Regions from separate parts of the Homo sapiens genome. Here regions 1, 2 and 3 are each linked to region 4. The links are contacts of gene promoters, found by promoter capture Hi-C in blood cells and fetal thymus (Javierre and others, 2016). All regions are on one chromosome and are shown on one strand. The core of a region is centred on a gene start or on the middle of the fragment in contact, and the rest is flanking DNA. Distances in the headings are between cores, read along the strand shown.

Region 1 (2,813 bases), core at 260-2,759, 540 kb before region 4:
CATGAGACCAGAAGAGTATAAAAACGCAAAAGATGTTGATTTCTGAATCCCAGATACCCGGTGTCAGCTGGTGAAAGAAGGACGCGATGAAGTTGCTGTCTCCCCTCGGAGTTTGGCAGGCCCGGGATTCCACAAAGGAGTAGGCGCGGCCAGCCGCCTCCAGCCCTGAGCTCAGTAAATTCGGTGTCCTGAATGCTCCCTTCCTGTCCTTACCACTGCGAGCTCTCTTGGGACAGCTTTCTAGGTTCCACTGCGACCTACTTTCCGCTCCCTGAGTGCTTCTTTGCTGAAACTGCAGGCGAAAAGATCTCTTTCCCAGACCGCAGCGCACTTTGAGAAGGGGCTCAAAGTCGCCCGCTCTGAATCCGGCACCGGCAAATAGGAGTAGCCGCAGGCGCCCTCTGGAGAGCTGGAGACTGCAGAGGGTCCCAACGGACGCCTGCCCCCGCAGCATCCCTCTCAACTCGCCCCTTGCTTCGTGGACAGACGACTGGGGCCGGAGACGTCCGTCCGAGGAGACCTTTCAGAGTGTCAGCCTACTACTGTCCCGCCGAAGCCACCAACCGAAGTTCCAAGACTGCTGGCTGCAGATTGCATGCGCTTGAGGGCAGACGCCCTAAGAAGGTGTCCACCGCCGCCTTTGATGTCCTGAGCCCTGAGATTTTCTCTGAGATCCTTCCATTGACGATCGTCTTGTAACAGATGATGTTACAGTAACACCTGAGTTCTCTCAAACGCGATGGAAGAAGTTTTGCCTTCAAATCAGTTTGTGCCATTTTCTTTCCCCTTCTCAATAAAATTGTACACAAATGTGGCCGGGCGCGGTGGCTTACGCCGGTAATCCCAGCAATTTGGGAGGCCCAGTCGGGTGGATCACTTGAGGTCAGAAGTTCGAGAACAGCCTGACCAACATGGTGAAACCCCGTCGCTACTAAAAATACAAAATAAGCCAGGCATGGTGACGCATGCCTGTAATCCCAACTACTCGGGAGGCTGAGGCAGGAGAATCGCTTGAACCCTGAGGCAGAGGTTGCAGTGAGCCGAGATGGTGTCATTGCACTCCAGCCTGGGCAACAAGAGCAAAACTCTGTCTCAAAAATATAAAATAAAATAAAATAGGACACAAATGTTAAATTTCTGTTACCTGGGTTCCTGCTGATGAAGGTAAGGACGGGGCATAGGAGCGGGGCGGCTGGTTGCTGGTGCCAGGACTGGCACGGGACTCTGGGTCGCCTAGGTTTGCTGATTGCAGGGCAGAAGTAGTGTGTCTTATCCAGAGACTGGAGGGAAGGATCAGCCAGGAGTTGTGCATGGCAGGTGACTCACAGGCTGGGCCTACAGGAAATGTGGTTAACAGGCAGCAGGCCTGAGAACTTAGTGCAGGAAATTCTCTTGTTCCAAGTCCCTGGAACTTTTCCCTCTGAGGGTTTGCACTGTTATATCTTGAGAGCTTGCTAAACTCACTCATGAGTGCTGGAACTTTTCTTTTAGACTCCTTAAGATTTTCTACATAGACTCATATTCTGCAGGTATGGATATTTTCATTGTTTCGCTTCCAATTTTTATGATTTTTAACACATTTTCTCACCTTATTGCACTGGCAAACAATTCCAGTACATTGTTGAATAGAAATGGTGAGAGTGGATATTTGTGCCTTGTTCCTGATTCCATGGGAAAAACGTTGAGTCTGTCATTATTACATACCACGTTTGCTATAGGTTTTTGTAGATTTTTTTTGGTTGAGGAAATTCCCTCTGTTCCCATGATGCTGAGAGTTGGTTTTTAAATTTTAAATCATAAATGGTATAGATTTTAAGTGCTTTTTGTGCATCATTTGATAGGATTATACGGTGTTTCTCATCTAGGCTATCAATAAGGCAAATTATATTATTTGACTTTCGAGCATTAAACTAGCCCTCCATCTGGAATAATCTTACTTGGGCGTGGTATTGTTCTTTATTTTTTTTGAGACGGAGTCTCGCTCTGTCGCCCAGGCTGGAGTGCAGTGGTGCGGTCTCGGCTCACTGCAAGCTCCGCCTTCCGGGTTGACGCCATTCTCCTGCCTCAGCCTCCCAAGTAGCTGGGACTACAGGCACCCACTACCACCCCCGGCTAATTTTTTGTATTTTTTTTTTTTAGTAGAGACAGGGTATCACTGTGTTAGCCAAAATGGTCTCGATCTCCTAACCTCGTGATCCGCCGGCCTCGGCCTCCCAAAGTGCTGGGATTACAGGCGTGAACCACTGCGCCTGGCCCAAGGCATGGTATTGTTCTTTAACATATATTTCTGACTGCCATTTGTTAGTATTTTGGTGAGGATTTCTGCATCTATGCTTAGGTGCAATATTGGTCAGTAGCTTTCTCTTAGCGTACTGTGTGTGCCAGGAAAGTGCTGATCTCATAAAATAAATTGGGAAGTATTCCATATTCTTTTATTTACTAGAATAAGTCATGTAGAATTCATCTTATTTATTCTTTAAATATTTGGTAAAAAATAGTCAATGAAATTGTAAGAAACTCTAGGTTTGTTTTTTGGAAGATTTTTTGACCATGAATTCAATATCATTAACGATGACTGTGGATCTTGCAGGGTTGATCCATTCTATCTAACTTGTTGAATTTATGAGTATAGAGTTGGTTTTAGATCATTTAAAAAAGTTACCATTGTGGGCCAGGTGGGGTGGCTCACTCCTGTAATCCCAGCACTTTGGGTGGCCAAGGTGAGTGAATCACTTGAGGCCCGGAGTTCAAGACCAGCCTGGCCAACATAGCAAAACCCCATCTCTACTAAAAATACAAAAAATTAGCCAGGC
Region 2 (2,707 bases), core at 98-2,597, 580 kb before region 4:
TCACAATTTTAAGCAGATCTAAAAGAAGGGTTCCTTAGCACACTGCATATTATTCATTCCATGAAGAGAGTTTTTCTAAATGAAAAATGTTCAGGACGTTCAGGAGAGGAAGAACAAATTAAAGAATGATCTCCACAGCAGAGGCCTCAAGGCTCTTATGCGTGCAAGGAACAGTTCCAGTGTAAAAGTCCGCAGCGACGCCATGAGGGCACCCACTGGAGTGCCTCGGGCTCCTTCCAGGGCAGCAGTTAAGCAGGTCGTGTCGCAGGCCTGCAGAAAGGCTGGGGTTCCTCTCCTTTCCGGGTTCCTTCCTGATGGAACCCTGGGTTTTCAGCAGCTTCCGGGGCGGGGTGGGAGGGTCCTGAACTGCAGAGAGCGCCCTGGGCATGTGTACTTCCACCTCCGCAGGCGCTGGCATCTCCAGGCAGCTTCAGGCCGCTTTGGAACTCACCGTCGGTAGCATCTGCGTCTTCTTGAGGGGACTGAAGACCGTCTGTGGTTTCAGCCATTGACTCCTCAAAATGGGAGTCTGGAGGCCGTTTTTGGCCCCTCTCATCTCCGGGAAGGGCTCCGTGCCTGGTGGAGGCTCAGTGCAGCAGCCAGCTCGCAGCAGAGCTCCCACAGAGCTGATGGCATTGACAGGAGTGGCGGCTCAGCACAGGGAAGTTATCCAGTGCCCAGGCCCAGACTTGCTCTCGGTTCAGGTCCCATGGCATGTGGGGCTCTGGACCTGCCTGCCTCCAAGACAGCTCTTCCAGAGTTGATGGATGGAACTCCATAGCCTCAGCCTCCCAAAGCTTGACCAGGTCCGGCCAAGTAGCTAGTCTAGGAAAAGAGCAAATGGCTCAATTCATCCCTGACTGTGGGTTTTTATAGCATTCTGTCTTGTACAGGAAGTCGGATACCAGAATCCAATCATGTGGGGATTAACACTTATTACCTTGCTAATTGCTTTAAACCATGATAGGGTTGTGGTGGAAAGTTTATCATTCCAGAAGGCACTATTGAAACTCCTTGGGTTTCTATTGGATCAGGCTGTAATAGGGTGGGGCAGGGTGTGAGAGAATGGGTCCAGTTATTGGCAGTTTTCTTATTTCAATAAGAAATTGGCAGTTTTCAGTATTTCACAATTTGATGAGATGTTAGATGTACATCTCATATAGAAATGCTTTATCAAATTAAGGGAATTTGCAATTTCTAATTTGCTAAGATGACTTTTATATTAATGAAGCAGGGTTGAATTTTTTAAAAGATTTTTTGTATCTACTGAGATTATCGTATATTTTTTCTGCTGTTAATGTGGAGAATAATAGAGATTGATTTTCAAACGCCAAACCAAAGTTGAGTTCCTGATAAACTCCATTAGATTATGATGCATTTTTTTAAAGTATATTACTGGATTCAGAATGTTAACATATAGTTGATTTGGCCCTGTGGTTTGGGAAAGATATTGGATGATGAAAAAATTGAAGAGGGGGCACTGGAATGACGCACGAAAAGGTCGTATAAATACTTAAACTTGTTGGTATTTAAAAAGGACTTTCTATGTAGTTGTACCACTCAGTCAAAGACTGTTTAAATGTAGGGAACATGTCTCATTTGCAGCATATCGAGAGTCAAGATTGGCCTGAGTCATTCTATTTTTGAAGGTACTCTGAAACAAATTTTAATACAGAGTGAATTTTTGAGGATTCCAACAGCAGGGGAAAAACAGTGAAGTACATAAGGTGAGCAGAAAGGTATGTTTTAATGGCCTGGCTTCCCCCAAAAAACATTACTGAAATAAACACTCATGTGAGATTGCTTTATTCAAGAGTGCTGTCCTTAGGAAGTGGGAGTGAGAAGAAAAAGGAGAGGGTCAGGGATGAGCATATTCAATGCTGTGCTTCCTAGTTGTTCAAGCTTAGTATCAAGTATGACCAGAGGTGACTTTATTATTAAACCAATAAAGTTTAACTGTAAGGCAAACTTCCAAAGAGTTTGTAAAACATTTGTCTTAAAACATTTTTATAATTCTCTTAAACAGAATCCCCTACTACTTGTATGAACACTGACTCCACAAATTGGAAACCGCTGTGAACACTAATGGTTGTTTGATCTCATGAAACCATCTTCTGAGAGGCCTTATGAATAACTGCTTCTCAGCACAGTTCACTTGGGAGGAAGAAAAGGACAGAATATATCCACTGTTGGGAGATAACACAATTCTCACAACAAAAACCCCAGTGTACCAAACAGAAGAGGCAGGGAACACTAGCATTCAGTTGGTATTCACAGATTTTCATGCATTTAAGTTAGCATGACAACTACAAAGTTAGGCCACATCTCATACATTTTCAGCAGAGCAGGGGGAAGCAGGATGAATTCCTTTCTCTCTTCAAAGAAACAGAGAACACCTTACAATAGTATTTTGTCATCTGCTAAGAGACCCTCAGCTCATTCTGAAAGTACTTTTAAGAAACATTTACATATTATTATTTGTCCTGTGACCATGGATATATTGATATATTGCAAAAACTTGAGATTCAATTTTATCTTCAGATGGACAAATCTAAATTCAAATGGTTCAACTATGGATTAAGACTCACCATATTAAATGTGATATTACTGGTCAATTTCTTTTATGGGTTTTAGGAAAAGAAAACACTCATATAGTATAAGCAGAAAACTATTATGGGATAAAATTCACTTAAAATATGATAAAAAT
Region 3 (2,700 bases), core at 58-2,557, 570 kb before region 4:
ATGCTATAAAAGCCCACAGTCAGCGATGGACTGCGCCATTTGCTCTTTTCCTAGACTAGCTATGGCTGGGCCTAGTCAAGCCTTTCCAGGAAGAGGCTATGAAGTTCCAACCATCAACCTTGGAAGAGCTGTCTTGGAGGCAGGCAGGTCCAGAGCCCCACACGCCATGGGACCTGAACCAAGAGCAAGCCTGGGCCTGGGCGCTGGATAACTTCCCTGTGCAGAGCCGCCACTCCTGCCAATGCCATCAGCTCTACGGGAGCTCTGCTCCGGGCTGGCTGCTGCACTGCGATTCCACCGGGCACGCAGCCCTGCCCGGAGATGAGAGGGGCCAAAAACAGCCTCGAGACTCTCATGTCGATGAGTCAATGGCTGAAACCACAGACGGGCTCCAGTCCCCTCAAGAAGACACAGATGCTACCGACGGTGAGATCCAAAGCGGCCTGAAGCTGTCTGGAGATGCCAGCGCCTGTGGAGGTTGAAGTACACACGCCCAGGGCACCCGCTGCAGCCCAGGCCGCCTCCGGCAGCTGCTGAAAACCTAGGATTCCATCAGGAAGGAACCCGGAAAGGAGAGGAACCCCAGCCTTTCTGCAGGCCTGCAGCACGACCTGCTTCAACTGCTGCCCTGGAAGGAGTCCGAGGCACTCCAATGGGGACCCTCATGCTGTCCCTGTGGACATTTGCACTGGAACTGTGCCTGCACTCATAACAGCCTTGATGTCTGTGTTGTGGAGATCTTTCCTTAATTTGTTTTTCCTCTCCTGAGCGTCCTAAACATTTTTCATTTAGAACAACTCTCTTCATGGAATGAATAATATGCAATGTGCTAAGGAACTCTTCTTTCAGATGTATTCAAAATTGCTGTGGTTCTTCCATAGAAACTGTACACATTGATTAAATCCTTTCCCTATTCTCCACCCGTGAAATTGATTTTGAGCTGGTAAATCAAGATTGGTATAGATGGGCCTGAAGCAGACAGAAAGGGGACAGGGACGCAGCTCAGAGCTTTTTTTTTTTTTTTTTTTTTTTTTTTTGAGCTGGGGTCTCGCTAGTCTTCCTGGGTAGCCCAGGCTGGTGTGCAGTGGCATGATCATGCTTTAGTTTAAATTCCAGGGGGCCTTTGAGGAGCTGTGGATACTAGCACGGTGGAAGGGGACAGCTGGGTGGATCACTTGCTGGAGTTGCTTCAAAACTGACCCTGGTCCTCCAGATGAAGGCAGGGAACAGACATTAACAGTGTTCTTTAAATCAGCAGTCCCCAACCCTTTTGGCACAAGGGACTGGTTTTATAGAAGACAATTTTTCCATGGATGGGGGGTTGGTAGACAGGGATAGTTTGGAGATGAAGCTGTTCTACCTCAGATAATCAGGCATCAGATTCTCAGGAGGAGCGCACAAGGTAGATCCCTTGCATGTGCAGTTTACAGTAGGCTTCGTGCACCTACGACAATCTAATGTCTCTGCTGATCTGACAAGAAGTGGAGCTCAGGTGGTAACGCTGGGCTGCTGGCCACTCCCATCCTGCTGTGCCACGGGGCTCTTAATGCTAACGGTAGAGGGTGTCCAGGTTCTTGGCGTCTTGAAGAAAGAATTGGACAAAATGCGCAAGCAAAGCAAGGACGGAATGAAGGGATTTATTGAAAACAAAAGTACACTCCACAGTGTGGTAGTGGGCCTGCGCATAGGGGCTCAAAGTTACAGAGTTTTTGTGAGTTTAAATACCCTCTATTTGGGGTACGCCCTATGTAAATGAAGAGGATGAAGTAAAGTTTCAAAGTCATTTACTGGGTGTATGCCCTATGGAGAGGATATTTCCTGTTATAGCTGAAGTGTGAATGGGCCTTATGTTCCCGGCCTCCAGACCCTATTTTCCTGCCTCACTAACAGGCCAGGGTCCAGTACAGGCACGCTGTCTGGGGAGTTGGGGACCCCTCTTTTAAATAGTTTAAAGTTTACATTGTAATAAGGGCTGGAAGAGGGGGTTGGGATGTCCTTCACATGAGGCCGATGGTGCCTGCCTACTGCGAAGCTGATTGGCATGCTGGGGGTGCAGTGGGGCAGGTGTAGCCTCTTTGCCTCATTTTCCCCTGCACTGCCCAGACATCTCCTGGACTGCCTGCATCATCAAGATCTGGACTTCAGAGCACGTCTTTGATCACCTGTGGGAAATTGTTACAACAGTTGCAATGCACAAATACCCAAAAGCCCTATGAACCAGGGCATGGTGTGGGTTGATGTGTTGGACACACATATAGATCCCAATGAAGAGTTGCACAGCCACAGACTTCTCTGCACAGAGTGGGAACTACAAGTCTCTTATTGGTACAGAAAGAACCAAAACATATGTGCTAGAATATTCTGTAGTTAATCCTATAGAGAAAACAATGGAACTTAAATCTACTAATATTTCACTTAAAATATGGTTTCATTAGGTGAGAGACTTATATACAAACCACATCCTCAGGACCCAGAAAAAAATTATTTTGACTCAAGAAGCCATAATCAGTGAAAGGAGGCAGCCTCAGCAGTTATCTTGAAGGACTGATGGCAAGTAGGATATCTTCAAATGCTATCAAAGGCACGGAAGCACTGGAATGGGTCATACATAAATTACATGTTAAAAAATGAAGAATTGATGGCTTTCACAAGAGGAGGCATAAGAACTCCGGTGGTGGCTGCAGCAGCCTTCGTAGTGAA
Region 4 (2,939 bases), core at 120-2,619:
TTTGTTGATAAGGTTCCTTAAGAGTAGTGATCTCTTTTAAACTTGTCATGTTTAAAAATCCAGTGTGCTCAAGGTATTTAATAAATATTCCATTTTACTAATACAAGAGATAATCACATAATAAATCCGCAGCCTATGAACTAAAGATACTGTTTGGGATAGCTTCTCTGACATAACTGACATATTATAAATTCCTCCCTATGACTCGCAGAAGCCATTTTCTGCAATGGCCAAACTTTGTCACACCCCATCCCCCTTATAGCAAATACCACTAACTTTGGGGCCTTCAGAGTATACATAACAGTACTTTTCTCCTTCCTGAATTCCACAAACATATAATTAGCTGGTCACTTTAATTATACGCTATCATGTATTGTTTGCTAATAATCTCTTAGACATTATTTCTGTCAAAACAAATAAGAGCTGATACATTCTCTAAGTAAGTGTCATCTGTTTTAACTTTCCCTCTTCCCCACCAACCTTACACATTATATGCAAAAACCCAAGGTCAAAACACGGTCCAAATTCCAGAAACCGCCTTTATTATGCTTTACCAGTAAGTCTTCTTCACTGAACTGTAGTTGCTGTAAACTTAATATATTTAATTTCTTTAATGGAAAAATATCAAAAGCAGATGCCAAATCTGATGCAACTAACTGACAAAGGAAACACAAATCTTGCTTACTTTCACTGAAACTTTTTATAGCCATCAGATGTCTGCACTTAAAATGTTTAGTTCCTATGCCCATTACGAATAAAACAAAATTCTGTATTTCAACATGTTTCAAGCCTCAGAAGTTCCCAGACATCCTTTTCTGAGTCTGGTGTGATGCAATAATTTTTCAAATGTCATTTAAAAAAATGGGCCAGGCTGCAGGGAAAGGACCATGTCACACTCTCAGCATTCAAGCCTCAAAGGCTCCGGGGCACGAAAGGCTCTTACAACCGGTTAAGGACGGCAATGGGCTCCTTCGGCACGACTCCCGGAACCCCACCCTGGGCCAGAAAAAGGCCAGGGGCGCGGAGCGTAGGCGGAGGGCTGGGGTTCTAGGGATCTAGAAAAAGCGCGAAGCCGGAGGGCGGCGCCAGGGCTCCTCGCAGACCCCAGGGCCGCGGGACGGTGCCGGCTCGTGGGTCACACGCACCCAGGAGGCTCCTGGCTCCCGCGTGGCGGCTGTTCCAGCACGCCCTCCGACCCGCAACCGGACCCTCCAGACATCAGACTCAGTGGTCCCCCACCTCCGGTCTCCCACCTCAGGACGCAGTTCCGCGGCGTCCACCCGGCCCCCTCCCCTCAGTCCCACGCAGCGGCTCAGCCATACCCACCCCGGCTTCTCTGAGTTCAATCCAGCAGCAGCTCGAGCAGCGGCTCCGCCCCTCGGTCGGAGCCATAGAGACGTCGGCTGCCGGCCAGAGTGGCCTCAGACCGCAGCGTCGGCCGAGAGGACGCCGGGATACTGGCCAGCTCCAAGTCGAAAGGAAGCGACGCATGAGTTGTTTGGTGCGGTGGGTAGATACCTCGAGTTTCTCCTCGCCCACCGTAGGCCCCGACCCCTAAAAAGGAAACTTTTGGGACGTCAGAGTGAGAGGAGAAAAGTGTCTTTTTAGTTTAGTTTTGTCAAACCTGAGGATTCGTTTTTCAGTTTAGCCGGAGCTGTGCCGCAAACGTAGCTGCCGACATCCCCACGACGCACCCAAGTGGTGGCCCGGAAGCTGGGGATAGAAAAGTGGCCTCCCCGAATGCCAGGCACACAGGCCTTACTACCAGAAGCTTGAGCTGGGAGCCTCGGCCGTCGCATCTCTAAGGTGCAGCGATACGGCCAACTTCCTTCCGCGAAGCCCTCAGGGTGGGCAACGGAGCTTTTCACCAGACTGAGGGACCGGGCGACCTGGCCGACCGGCGGCTCCTCACCGCCCCCTTGGGGATTTCTTGATAATTCTTTGCCACGATGCGGGCGGATGTTGTGGAGCTACTGTTTGTAGATCGCAGTAGCGTGACAGCACTTAATCATGACTACTAAATCCTCAGAAGTCGAAAAAGCAAGTCCATACAGAATAGTTTGACCCTAATTAAATTGCGCTTACAAGATACAGTTTGTTTACTGGGACTTTGGCTAGGTCCCATCCCGTCTCTGCCTCAGAGTGGTGGTTGCTCTTAGCACCAAGGAAATACCAGCTTGACATTTGACTCTAGGAAGCACAGGCCCAAAAGAAGAGGCCCAAGGAGGGACATTCTTCTTTCCCTTTCCTACCTACAGTTTCTCAAACCAAGTGTCAGATGGAAAGCAAGGGGTGGTATCATCGTAATTATACAGTTGACCATAGAAAATAAATTTCAATCTCAAAGTAAACTCCTAGGCCACCCCCAGAATCTTAGAGTTTCTCAATCATAGAACTCATTTCTTGTCACAGTCTTGGTTCTTAGCCAATGTAAAACACCCAACTGACAGGGAAAATTAAACACCTTTTAACTCCCACACACCTTAAATGAGAATTTAAAGTATCTTTCAGCAAATGTATTTATAATTTTGAGTGCTTTTAGCCATGTTAAGGACAAATTTTCTCCTTCTGAATGCAGTAATAATTTGGCATTACCCTTTTGGCAGTGTGGTACAAAGTCTTATAATCTAGGCTTTATGGAGCTATTGAGGAACAACATAGATGGCTTCATGCAAACCCAAACAATGTAATAGTAGTTCTTTTCTCTGTAGTCGGTCTACTGCCTGTAGATGTTTATTCCTTTTTTTTTTTTTTTTTTTTTTGAGACAGGGTCTCCCTCTGTCACCCAGGCTGGAGTGCAGTGGTGCAATCATAGCTCACTGCAGCCTTGACCTCCTGGGCTCAAGGGATTCTCCGGCCTCAGCCTCTGGAGTAGCTGGGACCACAGGCACATGCCATCGTGCAGGTAATTAAGTTTTTTGTAGAGATGGGCATCTCGC

The links. The method cuts DNA at HindIII sites, captures the fragments that hold promoters and counts their contacts. A CHiCAGO score of 5 or more calls a contact.
Region 1: a fragment that was not itself captured here is called in contact with the fragment with the promoter of TMEM267 in region 4 in 2 of 17 cell types (activated CD4 T cells and naive CD4 T cells); the score reaches 5.6 in activated CD4 T cells.
Region 2: a contact is called between a fragment that was not itself captured here and the fragment with the promoter of TMEM267 in region 4, in 1 of 17 cell types (non-activated CD4 T cells). The highest score is 6.2, in non-activated CD4 T cells.
Region 3: a fragment that was not itself captured here is called in contact with the fragment with the promoter of TMEM267 in region 4 in 1 of 17 cell types (naive CD4 T cells); the score reaches 6.0 in naive CD4 T cells.

The regions. Positions count from the first base shown.
Region 1 is chr5:42,943,844-42,946,656 of GRCh38, forward strand. No RefSeq gene overlaps it. Among named protein-coding and RNA genes, the nearest start is that of FLJ32255, 48 kb to the right of the region's middle. The HindIII fragment of the contact is 7,406 bases long and covers 1-2,813 here.
Region 2 is chr5:42,898,747-42,901,453 of GRCh38, forward strand. No RefSeq gene overlaps it. Among named protein-coding and RNA genes, the nearest start is that of SELENOP, 88 kb to the left of the region's middle. The HindIII fragment of the contact is 1,105 bases long and covers 796-1,900 here.
Region 3 is chr5:42,915,288-42,917,987 of GRCh38, forward strand. It overlaps the pseudogene PRELID3BP6. Among named protein-coding and RNA genes, the nearest start is that of FLJ32255, 77 kb to the right of the region's middle. The HindIII fragment of the contact is 4,686 bases long and covers 1-2,700 here.
Region 4 is chr5:43,482,496-43,485,434 of GRCh38, forward strand. It overlaps TMEM267 (transmembrane protein 267), which reads right to left and starts at 1,370. Exons shown (of 3, transcript NM_022483.5): 1 at 1,327-1,370. C5orf34-AS1 (C5orf34 antisense RNA 1) reads left to right here and starts at 1,424. Exons shown (of 3, transcript XR_007058763.1): 1 at 1,424-1,506. RefSeq lists a silencer at 1,225-1,455 and enhancers at 1,401-2,244, 1,510-1,699. The HindIII fragment of the contact is 3,795 bases long and covers 1-1,769 here.